Linked DNA regions of Homo sapiens: region 1 is linked to region 2. Evidence: promoter capture Hi-C in 16 types of primary human blood cells and fetal thymus (Javierre and others, 2016). All regions are on one chromosome and are shown on one strand. The core of a region is centred on a gene start or on the middle of the fragment in contact, and the rest is flanking DNA. Distances in the headings are between cores, read along the strand shown. Region 1 overlaps PHF12 (PHD finger protein 12). Region 2 holds the start of FAM222B (family with sequence similarity 222 member B).

Evidence for each region. Contacts are between HindIII fragments. The CHiCAGO score rates a contact against its expected background, and 5 or more counts as called.
Region 1: a contact is called between a fragment that was not itself captured here and the fragment with the promoter of FAM222B in region 2, in 1 of 17 cell types (activated CD4 T cells). The highest score is 6.2, in activated CD4 T cells.

The regions. Positions count from the first base shown.
Region 1 is chr17:28,920,751-28,927,538 of GRCh38, forward strand. PHF12 (PHD finger protein 12) reads right to left here. Exons shown (of 15, transcript NM_001033561.2): 3 at 6,241-6,313; 4 at 3,159-3,552; 5 at 938-1,058. It overlaps LOC101927018 (a long non-coding RNA gene), which reads left to right and starts at 5,525. Exons shown (of 2, transcript NR_110803.1): 1 at 5,525-5,978. RefSeq lists enhancers at 5,277-5,326, 5,347-5,526. The HindIII fragment of the contact is 4,879 bases long and covers 1,741-6,619 here.
Region 2 is chr17:28,841,215-28,847,902 of GRCh38, forward strand. FAM222B (family with sequence similarity 222 member B) reads right to left here and starts at 1,576. Exons shown (of 3, transcript NM_001077498.3): 1 at 1,468-1,576. RefSeq lists an enhancer at 1,155-1,669 and a silencer at 1,355-1,544. The HindIII fragment of the contact is 18,789 bases long and covers 1-6,688 here.

The sequences.
Region 1 (6,788 bases), core at 2,930-5,429, 82 kb after region 2:
TGGAGTTTCACCATGTTGACCAGGATGGTCTTGATCTCCTGACCTCATGATCTGCCCGCCTCGGCCTCCCAAAGTGTTGGGATTACAGGCGTGAGCCACCACACCGGGCCATTGTTTTTATTTATTTTTATTTATTTTTTTGAGACGGAGTCTTGCTCTGTCGCCCAGGCTGGAGTGCAGTGGCGCGATCTTGGCTCACTGCAAGCTCCGCCTCCCAGGTTCATGCCATTCTCCTGCCTCAGCCTTCAGAGTAGCTGGGATTACAGATGCCTGCCACCATGCCCGGCTAATTTTTTTTTGTTTGTTTGAATTTTTAGTTGAGACAGGGTTTCACCATGTTAGCCAGGATGGTCTCAATATCCTGACCTTGTGATCAGCCTGCCTCGGCCTCCCAAAGTGTTGGGATTACAGGCATGTGCCACAGCGCCCGGCCCCTTGTTTTTGTTTTAAAATACAGGGTCTCGCTCTGTTGACCAGGCTGGAGTGCAGTGGCGTGATCACAGTTTAGCCTCCAGGGCTAATCTGCTTAAGCCTCTGGAGTAGCTGGGACTACAGGTGCGTATCACCATACCTGGTTCATTAAAAAAATTTTTTTTTGTAGAGACAAGGTTTCACTGTGTTGCCCAGGTTGGTCTCAAGCTCCCAGGTTCAAACAATCTGACCGCCTCGGCCTCCCAGATTGCTGCGATTACAGGCATAAGCCACCGTGCTCGGCCTCAACACAGTTCACAGTACTCCTGTACTGTGATTCTTCAGAAAATTTGTTAACACATACACATTCAAGGCTCTCGTCAGTCCATTAGTTAGTCTCCATGTACTCATACTATCAGAATATGGGCTGTTCACATTTAACATACATGGTCTGGAAGAGGTGATGAGAGAAAAAGTATCATCTGCTAAATAATGAGAAAGAGCCCCTTAGTATGAAAGAAAATACCTGTTACACGTGAAGCAGACTTTGACGGGTAAGGGAACGAGACCATTGTGATCTAATTCATGCTGTGTCTTCTTAACATTTTTCCCTGTGGTTTCCTCCTTTCTTCTCCTCTTGCTAGAACCTAGAAAAGAAAATGATGGTGCTGAGCTATCCCTGGCTTCAGAGTTCCTAGCCTGCAATATGGAAACAACATTAAGTGACAAAAACAGATCTTAAGCATGTGTCATGGCCTAAGCATGAATTGCTCTCTGAGGCCCCTGGGGTTGATTTTAAGTTAGAAAAAAGAAAGATTAGGGAGGAAAAAAAAAGAGACTAATACGTAAGTCAGAACCAGAAGTCACCTGTTCTATGGCAGAAACACATCTAACTGTTTTGCAAACATAAAATGGTCAGAAATGCTAGGTTAGATACAGGCAACCTAAGAAATGTAAATGTCCAAGCCACATAGTCAACAAGGACTATTCTGTGGAGTTGGCCTGCAGTCTTGAACTACTGGGCTCAAGCAACTTTCCTGCCTCAGCCTCCATATGAGCCAGGACTACAGGTGTGGGCCATCAAACTCAGCTAACTTTTTTATTTTTATTTTTTGAGAGATGGGGTCTCATTATGTTGCCAAGACTGGTCTCCAATTCCTGGCCTTAAGCAATCCTCCTGCCTTGATCTCTCAAAGTACTAGGATTACAGGTGTGAGCCACCACACCTGGCCCACATTTTCATAAAAATCAGAGAAGCTTTGATTCTATATGCATCCTTCTTAAGCCTACCAATTTCACTTTCTTTGGGAATAAAAACTAAGACCTAGAAGCTTTACAGTATCAAGAAGCCAGGACTTAAAAAAAAAGAATGGAGGACAATTTGGCAATATCTATCAAAACTATATAGTTTTGACCCAGCAATTTTATTGTCCTATAGACATAGTCACACATCTATACATGTATATAATGATGTATTTACAAAGTTATTCTCTGAAGCACTACCAGTAGTAATGAAAGATTTGGAACCTAAATGTCCATTAATAGAAAATGTCCATTAATAGAAAATGGCACTGGTTAAATAAATTATGACGTATCTGTACAAAGAACTACTATGCAACCATTAAAAAAAGCAAGAAGGCCAGGCGCAGTGGCTCATGCCTATAATCCCAGCACTTTGGGATCCTCTGAGGCGGGAGGATCGTGTGAGCACAATTTGAGACCAGCCCTGGCAACATAGTGAGACCCTGTCTTTATAAAAAATATAAAAATTAGCTGAGTGTGGTGGTGTACAACTGTGGTCCCAGCTACTTGGGAGGCTGAGGTGGGAGGATTGCTTGAGCTGTGGTCACACCACTGCACCACAGTGCAGTGCAGCCTCTGTCTCAAAAAAAAAAAAATTCTATATTAATATGAAAAGACTTCTAGAACATATTTTAAAGTGAGAAAAAAAAAGCAACGTGTAGAATGGTTTAACTAGCATGTTACTTAAGGGAAAATTAATCAGCATATATCTGTATTTGCTTTTACATGCACAAAGAAATTTGAGAAGAATAAACAAGAATCAACCAGTGGTTACCTGTGAAGAGCAGGAAGGTGGAAAGTAGGCAAATGGCAGACGGGTGGGAGGGAAATTTTCATTGTAGCCCTTAATATTTTTTGATTTTTGAACCATGTGAATGTATAATACTTTTTTTTTTTAAAAGATAATTCTGGGGCCGGGCGTGGTGACTCGCACCTGTAATCCCAGCACTTCGGGAGGCCGAGGTGGGCAGATCACCTGAGGTCAGGAGTTCAAGACCAGCCTGAACAACATGGTAAAATCCTGTCTCTACTGAAAATACAAAAATTAGCCAGGCATGGTAGCATGCGCCTGTAGTCCCAGCTACTTGGAAGGCTGAAGCACGAGAATCGCCTGAACCTGGGAGGCGGAGGTTGCAATGAGCCGAGATCGTGCCACTGCACTCTAGCCTGAGTGACAAAGTGAGACTCACAAAAAAAAAAAAAAAAAAAAAAGGAAAAAGATAATTCTGGGGGAGGGGAAGGAAAGAAGTTCAGAAACTGAGAAAATGGAAAACTGAGTAAGCTCTGTAATGGCTAAGACCTTCAAAGATCTCTCCAAGCAGAACTAGGAACAGGAACCCAAGACAGTAGCTACATGAACAGTGACTCCACAGGCAGCACTGCTCTTGTGCTGGTCCTTTGGGGAAACTGGGGTTGGGAAGGGATATGATGATGGTTTGGCTGACCTGGTAGTGCAGTGGTACAAGTCAGTTCATTGGGCAACTGAAATTGGGTGGGGTTCCGCTCCATGGCGGCAGCAATCAGCAGCTCAAAGGGCCGCCTCAGCTGGGGCTGCACATAGTCTGGCTCCGCTGCTACTGGTTCCTCATCCACGTCAATGATGTCTTCGTCGACATCATTCTGCTCAGAGGTGGGAGTCTCTGTGCTGGCGCTGGATGTGGGTGTGCCAGGCCTGCTGGCTCTCCTTTCCAGGATCCGGGCATGGGCAATGGCCTTTAGTTCAGTTTTGCTGGCCGATCTGTCCAACAAGTCAGTGTCACTGCTGGGGGATGTAGTCCGTTTGCCAGATTTGTCCACCAGTCCATTGACATGACCCAGCTCCTTTTTCTGCTCTCGTTTCTGTGCAAATGAACAGGTGGGCCCATCATGAAAAGTACCATGAAACAAAGAGATGGGTGCTACAAAGTCCTGGTAGACCACTAATCAAAACTGTAAAAGGCCTTCACATATCACAGACTCATCTACCTGGTCACTTGGAACACTGGTCTGTTAAAGTTGACACAACTCTAACTGAACTAAAGCTGACAAAACTGTTGCATCAGAGAATCACCAAAAAGCATGGTAAGTTAGGAATAACTATACAAAATATATATCATTAACATTAACTCATTGTATGACATACAACATCTATAAAGTATAGGGTAAAGGGCTAAAAAGGTAACACAGTGAGAATAAATTTAGTGAGACCAATAGTAAAAATCAATGGGGCAGGCACGGTGGCTCACGTCTGTAATCCCAGCACTTTGGGAGGCCGAGGCAGGCAGATCACCTGAGGTCAGGAGTTCAAGACCAGCCTGGCCAACATGGTGAAACCCCATCTCTACTAAAAACACAAAAATTAGCTGGGTGTGGTGGCATGTGCCTGTAATCCCAGCTACTCAGGAGGCTGAGGCAGGAGAATCGCTTGAACCTGGGAGGCAAAGATTGCAGTGAACTGAGATTGCGCCATTGCACTCCAGCTTGGGCGACAGAGCAAGATTCCATCTCAAAAAAAAAAAAAAAAAAAATCAGTGAGATCACTATAGAGCCTTCTGACCTCCTGAATGGTTTTAAAAATAAAAACTTTGCTCAAAATAAGTGACACTTCTTAGAAAGTGGGGAAATGGAAAAAGATTAAGTGTACTCAGTAGGACTGGATATCTGATAGTACATTTTCCTCCAGGACTCCAAATAGAGTGGTCAAATGAAGGTTTAACACTGATCTCCAGGTAGGAGACCTGTGATCTTGTCCTATTTCTGCCACGGATCCCCTCTGACCTTGTGGTGACTCAGGCTGGTGGGCAGGAATTTCTTCATCTGTAAAATGAGACAGAAAAATCTTTCTCCTCCTCCTCTCAGGGATATGGTGGAGGGAGATAAAAAGGGTCATATATACGAAAGGGATAATTTGGAGTTGGAGTAGGACCTAGTCTTCCACTACGAATCATGATAGGGCCTGAATGTCAGGAGCTGATGAAGGCCAGAGGATGTATTATTTCAATCCACTTCAGTGTAAATACAAGAGGCCAAAGGGGAGTAGTGCTGGTGATGGTGGAAAAGGCAGACTTGGCACTGGTAGGCAGAGGTCCATGTGAAAGGTAAGAGAGGCATCTCAGGAGAAGTGCCATGTTAGAAAAGGGCATACTGTAATCCCCAACAAGTAGCTCTCCTTCTAGAAAACTGATGAAGAGGTAACAGAGGTTTGGAATGAGAGAATTTGGTTCAAACATTGGTTCTGTCAATACCTTTGAGTCCTTGGGAAAGTTAATCTACATTTTTGAGCCTCCGTTTCTTCCTTTCTAAAATGGAAACCTACGGCCAGCATTCGGTATCCATCTATGGCTGGATGGATAGATAATGGGATAACGTAATTAAAACACCTGGCACACGATGGGCACTAACATAATATTTCCTTTTCTCCACCGTCTTTACCCCTTTTCCTTCAGCTCCCCTAAACCTTTTCAGGTCCAGCTTTTTTGAGTGGCAAGTTTGAGAGGGCTCCTGGCTGGCAGGTGCCTCTAACAGGCCCTGCTCTAACCTAATTAGGGATGCACAGGAAAGGATCTTGGAAGGTGGAGAGGCTGGAAGACAGCCTGGTTTATGGAGAAATTTAACTACAGCTGTGGTTAGGTGGTTGACCTGGCTTTGGCTTGCTTTTAAATATGAACCCTTATGCACGTATTTGAAAAATAATGTCTGCTTGTTTACTTTCTTTCTTAAAGGCTGAAACTGTTACACACATAAACCACAATCTTAATCATCTCATCCTGTTTCTGCAACCAAGGAAGTCATCATTCATTGTGACATCATGTTCGGGGACCAGGCAAATAGAGGTGAGGTCACAACATAGGAAAGTTGCTTGGTGTATAATTAGTGTGGGGAGCACAGGGGGGTGGATTACAATGCACAGACAAATTCTAATCCATAGCCTGTAATTTGAGGGTTGGGTCAATCATAATTTGGGTGCAAGCACACCTACTTCCTTTTTTAATAAGGGAGAATTTAGCTCTTGTTACCCACAAGAGTTCTCAAAGTAGAAAATAATAAACCATGTTCTTGAAGCCAGTACTGAATTATCAAAGCTGAAGGAAGGGAAGCTAAAGAAAGATTAGGCAACTTGGGGTACAAATGCGTTCAAAATCCTCTCCGTCAGTATGCCAAGTCTCTGGATACCAGTGACTTATTTGCCCTGGGGTGAGAGAAAACTCCATTTTCCATCAAGCTGGAGAAGCAGCCTTTGTTTTTCAGCCATGGATAAGGCCACTTATTAGGAGGACAACAAGAAGGTAAGACTACTCCTGTCACTAGTGACTAAACATGGCTCAGTAAGTTAACACACCTCTTCTGCCCATTTCAGCAGCCCATGTTTGGATTTTTAGGCCCTACTGGATTCCAAACAGTCACCATGGGAAGAGTGGGGTGATTCCAGGGCTGGAAGAGACAAGAAGAAGGGACAAGAATGCCTTCAGGGCTAGGCCGTCTTAGCTCTAGCATATCAGTGCTCTGGATCAGGCTTTCTGGACAGTCTTCAGAAAGCAGCATTATTACCTTTCGGCGAACAGTGCACCGGTGACACATCCACTCTCCAGGAGGCAACATTTCTTCACTCAGTGGAGGGTTACTGTGGGGAACAGACAAGGGCAAGACTAAATAACTAGCCCTTTGAGGCAGTAGGAAAAGCCTAGCTAGGTTTGCATGTTCCTAAACTCCTATTGTGGCCAGTCCTGCAGGACTGCTAGGGTTGTCTCCTCCAAAATGCCTAAGTCAGCATCACTCATAATAACCTAAGGAGTGACCATCCCTTCCCACACCTTAGAGAGAGAAGCCAAATCCAGAGCTATTAACACTGGGTTTGTAGGGAAAGGTATAATAAAATAACTGAGAGGTCCTCCACACTGTTTTCTTAAAGCCTGTTAGTGTAGAGCCAAGCTTTTCTAACTGCTGTTCAAAGCCCTGTCACATGGTCCCACCGTTCCATCTTCCCAGACCCCTTCAGGTGCTCTTCCCACTATTCAAATGGAAGACTTCCTATTTCTTCCTCTAGAATACTCTTCCTTTAGAAAGCTATGCCTGTCAAAACTCTATTCATCCTTTCA
Region 2 (6,688 bases), core at 326-2,825:
AACCCGGGAGGCGGAGGTTGCTGTGAGCCGAGATGATGCCACTGCACTCCTGCCTGGCGACAGAGCGAGACTCCGTCTCAAAAATAAAATAAAATATAATAAACAAATTATATTTTCACATCCCTCACTGGGCAGCCCTCCCAGCTTGTCTCAAACTAGTTTTCTTAACTCTTTTTTCCAGACGGAGTCTCGCACTGTCACCCGAACTGGAGTGCAATAGCACTATCTCGGCTCACCGCAACCTCTGCCTCCCGGGTTCGAGTGATTCCCCTGCCTCAGCTTCCCAAGCAGCTGGGATTACAGGCGCCCGCCACCACACCCGGCTGATTTTTTGTATTTTTAGTAGAGACGGGATTTCACTACGTTGGCTAGGCTGGTCTCCAACTTCTGACCTCGTGATCCGCCCGCCTCGGCCTCCCAAAGTGCTGGGATTACAGACATGAGCCACTGCACCCGGCCTTTTCTCAACTCGTTAAAGCACATTAGTGCCAACTGTGTTATAAGGCAACATGAGTTAGCTATGTTCAGAAAATATTTTAATAGATTGGCCCTCCATCCTTTCGGGTGAGGAGCTGCAAACCGTTTGTAAAAACGCCGGAGTACGGTATTTTTCCTACAGAAGTCTGATGGCTAATTTATCACATTACAGAACTGGTAGTTCTGCACATGGTCTGCTGTGCCCATAAAGAAAGCACATATGTGTCTACTGAGGTTTTACAAACAATACGCTTCTTATCTTAACAGAGAAATCAGTCATTCCATTAACAACGGTAAGGTCTAAATTCCACTAACATTGTTGGTGATACATTAACATCAACATAGTACTTACAATTCACAATTTGCATAAACAATCTCAATTACATAGGTGATGCTTGCAATAGCCCGTTTGAAGCATGACATCTTCCTGGTGTTCAGAAAGGTTAAGTGGGACCTGCCCAAGGTTACCTAACAGCTTTATCAATGGTGGACTTCCTTTCGAACCTGCCTGACTCTAAGCCCCTAGCTCTTTTCCCTAGACCCCTCCCGGCTTTCAAAAGAGGGTTCCCGACTCCCATCCTCTACCCAGAGCAGCCTATTACTCCGGGAGACCGACCCTTCCCCTGCCTGGTTCAGAGGTGGCTTCTTAAGCTCCAGCAGAGCTTTCATCCTCCACCACCCTCCCCCCGCAATCATTCTCTGAAAGAAGCGGAAAGGAGAGGCGACCAAAAGCTCCTGGAGGAAGGGATGATACAAATGGGCTGCTTCACTCCACAGCACGCAACCCCGTCCCCCTCCACCAAGCTGTCCAGCTCTGCGGCCGGCGACCGGGCCACCCGTGCCCCAAATTCTCCCATCATCACCTCAAACTGTACCTCCCCCACGCCCTTCCGTCTCCCACAGTCAGAGCCCACCCCACAAAGTCATGTATCCTTCCGCTAAGTTACCCTCTTCCCACGCGTTGTCCACTCCCCCTCCACCACTACTCACGGTCGGTGACTGGGCCCGGCCCTCATGGCTGCTCCTTTGCCGCCCGCCGCCCGCCGCCACCACTTCTCCACTGCCCGGCCCCTCAGTCACCGGCGCAGCTGTGGGGACTACCCGGAGCCGCTCCTGCGCCTGCGCAGCGTGTAGCGCCTGGGCCCTTTCGGGCCGCACGCGCCTGCGCAGCCCCTGCCGGGGGCGTCTTCCTCAGTGCCTGATGGTCTGGACCCCTGGGTCTCTAGTGGACATGGGAGCTGGCCTTGAAGAATTCTGAGGCTTAGAGAATTTGGCGGCTGCCTCAGGGTACGCCTCTGGAGTACCGTGCCTAGGTTACTAAACCCTTGGATCGCGCTTCCCCAAGGAGCCACAGACTTACTGGCTCTTCCAGAATTCTGCATCCTACTTGCACTTAAAGGCCTGAATTCAGGTGCTCTGAGGTGACCACTGATGATAAATTTGGGTCTTTTTTTTTTTTTTTCTGAGTCGAAGTTTCGCTCTTGTTGTCCAGGTTGGAGTGCAATGGCGTGATCTCGGCTCAAACAACCTCCGCCTCCCGGGTTCAAGCGATTCTCCTGCCTCAGCCTCCCGAGTAGCTGGGATTACAGGCATGCACCACCACGCCCAGCTAATTTTGTATTTTTAGTAGAGACGGGGTTTTATCATGTTGGTCAGGCTGGTCTCGAACTCCCGACCTCAGGTGATCCACCCACCTCAGCCTTCTAAAGCGCTGGGATTACAAGCATGAGCCACCGCGCCCAGCCTGGGTCTTTTTTTTTTTTTTTTTTTTTTGAGACGGAGTTTTGCTCTTGTTGCCCAGGCTGGAGTGCAGTGGCGCGATCTCAGCTCACTGCAACCTCCGCCTCCCGGGTTCAAACGATTCTCCTGCCTCAGCCTCCTGACTAGCTGGGATTACAGGCTTGCACCACCACGCCTGGCTAACTTTTGTATTTTTAGTAGAGACGGGGTTTCACCATGTTGGCCAGGCTGGTCTCGAACTCCTGACCTCAGATGATTCGCCCGCCCCGGCCTCCCAAAGTGCTGGGATTACAGGCCTGAGTCACCATGCCTGGTAAAATTTGGGTCTCTTTCAAGATGATCGTGTCTAGAATGTATCGGGGGTAATTATGTAAAGGCAGCTTTGCCATCCTAGAATACGCTACTAGCTAGGAGGTGCAATGAAGTCCTGGGGACCTTGTCAAGGAGGTGACCTCGCCTAGAATGCACTGGGGACACCGCTAAGTTCAGTATGTTTATCAAGCACATGCTGTTTATTGGACAGAAATGTTCTAGGCATCGCGTGTATGCTATTGAGGAATTCGCAGGCAAATAGTCCCCTGCTTTCCAGCTCTCACTGTGAGCCTGGCCCTTTTTCAAACTGGTAAAAGAAAACCACTAAAGTCCAGTGAGGCCCAACTGTCAGTCCCTAGACTACTGTGCTGCTTTGGCATAGCCTGACAAGAGACTAAGCTCAATCGAGTCCTGAGAATTCAACAAAACAGACTTGAAAGCAGCAGGCAAGAGGAGGTACAGGACTAAACTCTCTCCTCATCACCATGGCTCTTTTTTCTCTCTCAACTCCAGCGCTGGTCTCCTCTCTTCAGAGTTTGGACACATAAGGCCCAAGATACAACGTAAGGGGGAAAAAGAGAAGAAAAAAAGACAAGTTGAGTGCTCAATGAGGAATGTTAAAAAAATTTAAATAGGCCAGGTGCAGTGGCTCACGCCTGTAATCCCAGCACTTTGGGAGGCCGAGGCGGGCGGATCATGAGGTCAGGAGATCGAGACCATCCTGGCTAACACGGTGAAACCCCGTCTCACTAAAAATACAAAAAATTAGCCGGGCGTGGTGGCGGGCGCCTGTAGTCCCAGCTACTCAGGAGGCTGAGGCAAGAGAATGGCGTGAACCCGGGAGGCGGAGCTTGCAGTGAGCCGAGATCAAGCCACTGCATTCCAGCCTGGGCGACAGAGCGAGACTCCGTCTCAAAAGAAAAAAAAATTAAAAATAAAGCTGGGCATAGTGACTTATGCTTGTAATCCCAACATTTTGGGAGGCCAGGTTGGGAGGATTGCTTGAGCCCAGGAGTTAGAGACCAGCCTGGGCAACATAGGGAGACTCATCTCTACAAAAAATCTAAAAAATAGTGGCCAGGCAAGATAGCTCATGCCTGTAAACCCAGCACTTTGGGAGGTTAAGGCGGGCGGATCACTTGAAGCCAGGAATTCGAGACCAGCCTGGCCAACACGGTGAAACCCTGTCTCTACTGAAAAAATACAAAAATTATCTGGGCATGGTGGCATGCACCTGTAGTCCCAGCTACTCAGGAGGCTGAGGCAGGAAAATCGCTTGAACCCAGGAACGGAGGTTACAATGAGCCGAGATCGCACCACTGCACTCCAGCCTGGATAACAGAGTGAGACTCCATCTCAATTAAAAAAATAAATAGGGCCGGGCGCGGTGGCTCAGGCCTGTAATCCCAGCACTTTGGGAGGTCGAGGTGGGCGGATCACGAGGTCAGGAAATCGAGACCATCCTGGCTAACACGGTGAAACCTCATCTCTACTAAAAATATAAAAAATTAGCCGGGCATGGTGGCGGGCCCCTGCAGTCCCAGCTACTTGGGAGGCTGAGGCGGGAGAATGGCGTGAAGCCCGGAGGCAGAGCTTGCAGTGAGCCAAGACGGTGCCACTGCACTCCAGCCTGGGGACAGAGCGAGACTCCATCTCAAAAAAAAAAAATACAAAAATACAAAAAAATTGGCTGGGCGTGGTGGTGGGCGCCTGTAGTCCCAGCTACACGGGAGGCCGAGGCAGGAGAATGGCATGAACTGGGAAGCGGAGCTTGCAGTGAGCCGAGATCGCGCCACTGCACTCCAGCCTTGGCGACAGAGCGAGACTCTGTCTCAAAAAAAAAAGGAAAAAAAGAAAAAATAAATAAATAGGCCAGGCACAGTGGGTCACACCTGTAATCCCAGCACTTTGGGAAGCCGAGGTGGGCAGATCATAAGGTCAGGAGATCGAGACCATTCTGGCTAACACGGTGAAACCCCATCTCTACTAAAAATACAAAAAATTAGCCGGGCATGGTGGCGGGTGCCTGTAGTCCCAGCTACTTGGGGGGCTGAGGTGGGACAATCAATTGAACCCGGGAGGTGGAGGTTGTAGTGAGCCAAGATTGCGCCACTGCAATCCAGCCTGGGTGACAGAGCAAGGCTCCATCTCAAAAAGAAAAATAAATAAATAAATAAGGGTTGGGCCTGGTGGCTCACGCCTGTAATCTCAGCACTTTGGGAGGCCAAGGCGGGTGGATCACGAGGTCAGGAGATCGAGACCATCCTGGCTAACACGGTGAAACCCCGTCTCTACTAAAAATACAAAAAATTAGCTGGGCATGGTGGCGGGCGCCTGTAGTCCCAGGTACACAGGAGGCTGAGGCAGGAGAACGGCGTGAACCCAGGAGGTGGAGGTTGCAGTGAGCCGAGACCATGCCACTGCACTCCAGCCTGGGCGACAGAGCAAGACTCCATCTCAAAAAAAAAAAAAAAAATTAGCTGGATGTGGTGGTGCACACCTGTGGTCCCACCTACTTGGGAGGCTGAGGTGGGAGAATCACTTGAACCCAGGAGGCAGAGGTTGCAGTGAGCCTAGACTACACTACACCGCAGCCTAAGGAACCGAGTGAGACTGTGTCTCAAAAAAATTTTTTTAATTAAAAAAAAAATGTTCAGGCCAGGTACGGTGACTCACGCCTGTAATGTCATCACTTTGGGAGGTGGAGTAGGCGGAGTTTGAGACCAAGCTGGGCCACATGGTGAAAACCCGTCTGTACAAAAAAATTACCAAAAAATTAGCCGGGTGTGGTGGCCCGCATCTGTAGTCCCAGCTACTTGGGAGGCTGAAGAGCGAGGATTGCTTGGGTCTGGGAGGCGGAGGTTGCAGTGAGATTCAACCATTGCACTCCAGCCTAGGGGAGCCAGACTCCATCTCAGTAAGAATAAAATTTTCCTCTTAAAAAAGAAAAGAAAATCCTCTATTAACCCCACAGCCCTCTCCTGCTCAATATTGGTCCTCAATATCCAAGGGTTCAGCATCTAGGAATTCAACCATCCGAAGAACAAAAATATCTGGGGAAAGGCCAAACGTGGTGTCTCATGCCTGTAAACTCAGCACTTGGGGAGGCCAAGGCAGAGGACCATTTGAGGCCAGGAGTTCGTGACCAGCCTGGGCAACGTAGTGAGACTCTGTCTCTGCAAAAGATTTAAAAATTAGCGCTGGGCGTGGTGGCTGACGCCTGTAATCCCAGCACTTTGGGAGGCCTAGGTGGGTAGATCACCTAAGGTCAGGAGTTCGAGACCAGCCTGACCAACATGGAGAAACCCCATCTCTACTAAAAATACCAAATTAGCCGGGCATGGTGGAACATGCCTGTGATCCCAGCTACTCGGGAGGCTGAGGCAGGAAAATCGCTTGAACCCCAGAGGCACAGGTTGCAGTGAGCCGAGATAGTGCCATTGCACTCCAGCCTGAACGACAGAGACTCCGTCTCAAAAGAAAAAAAAAAGAAAAAGAAAAAATCTAAAACTTCCGTGACCCCAAGTTACAAGGTGTAACTTTATCTTCCTTACTAAAATAGTGTAGTGGGCCGTGCGTGGTGGTTCATGCCTATAGTCCCAGCACTTTGGGAGGCTGAGGCAGGCGGATCACGAGGTCAGGAGTTCGAGGCCAGTTTGGCCAACATGGAGAAACCCCATCTCTACTAAAAATACAAAAAATTAGCCGGGCATTGTGGCGGAAGCCTGTAATCCCACCTACTCCGGAGGCTAAGGCAGGACTATTGCTTGAATCTGGGAAGTGGAGGTTGCAGTGAGCCGAGATCGTGCCACTGCACTGCAGCCTGGGCGACAGAGAAGGACTCTATCTCAAACATAAATAAATAAATTAATTAAATAAAGAAAAACAAGGCCGGGCGCGGTGGCTCACTCCTGTAATCCCAGCGCTTTGGGAGGCCGATGTGGGCAGATCACGAGGTCAGGAGATCGAGACCATTCTGGCTAACATGGTGAAACCCCGTCTCTACTAAAAATACAAAAAATGAGCCGGGCGCCATGGCGGGCGCCTATAGTCCCAGCTACTCCGGAGGCTGAGGCCGGAGAATGGTGTGAACCCGGGAGGCGGAGCTTGCAGTGAGCCGAGATAGCGCCACTGTACTCCGGCCTGGGCGAAAGAGCGA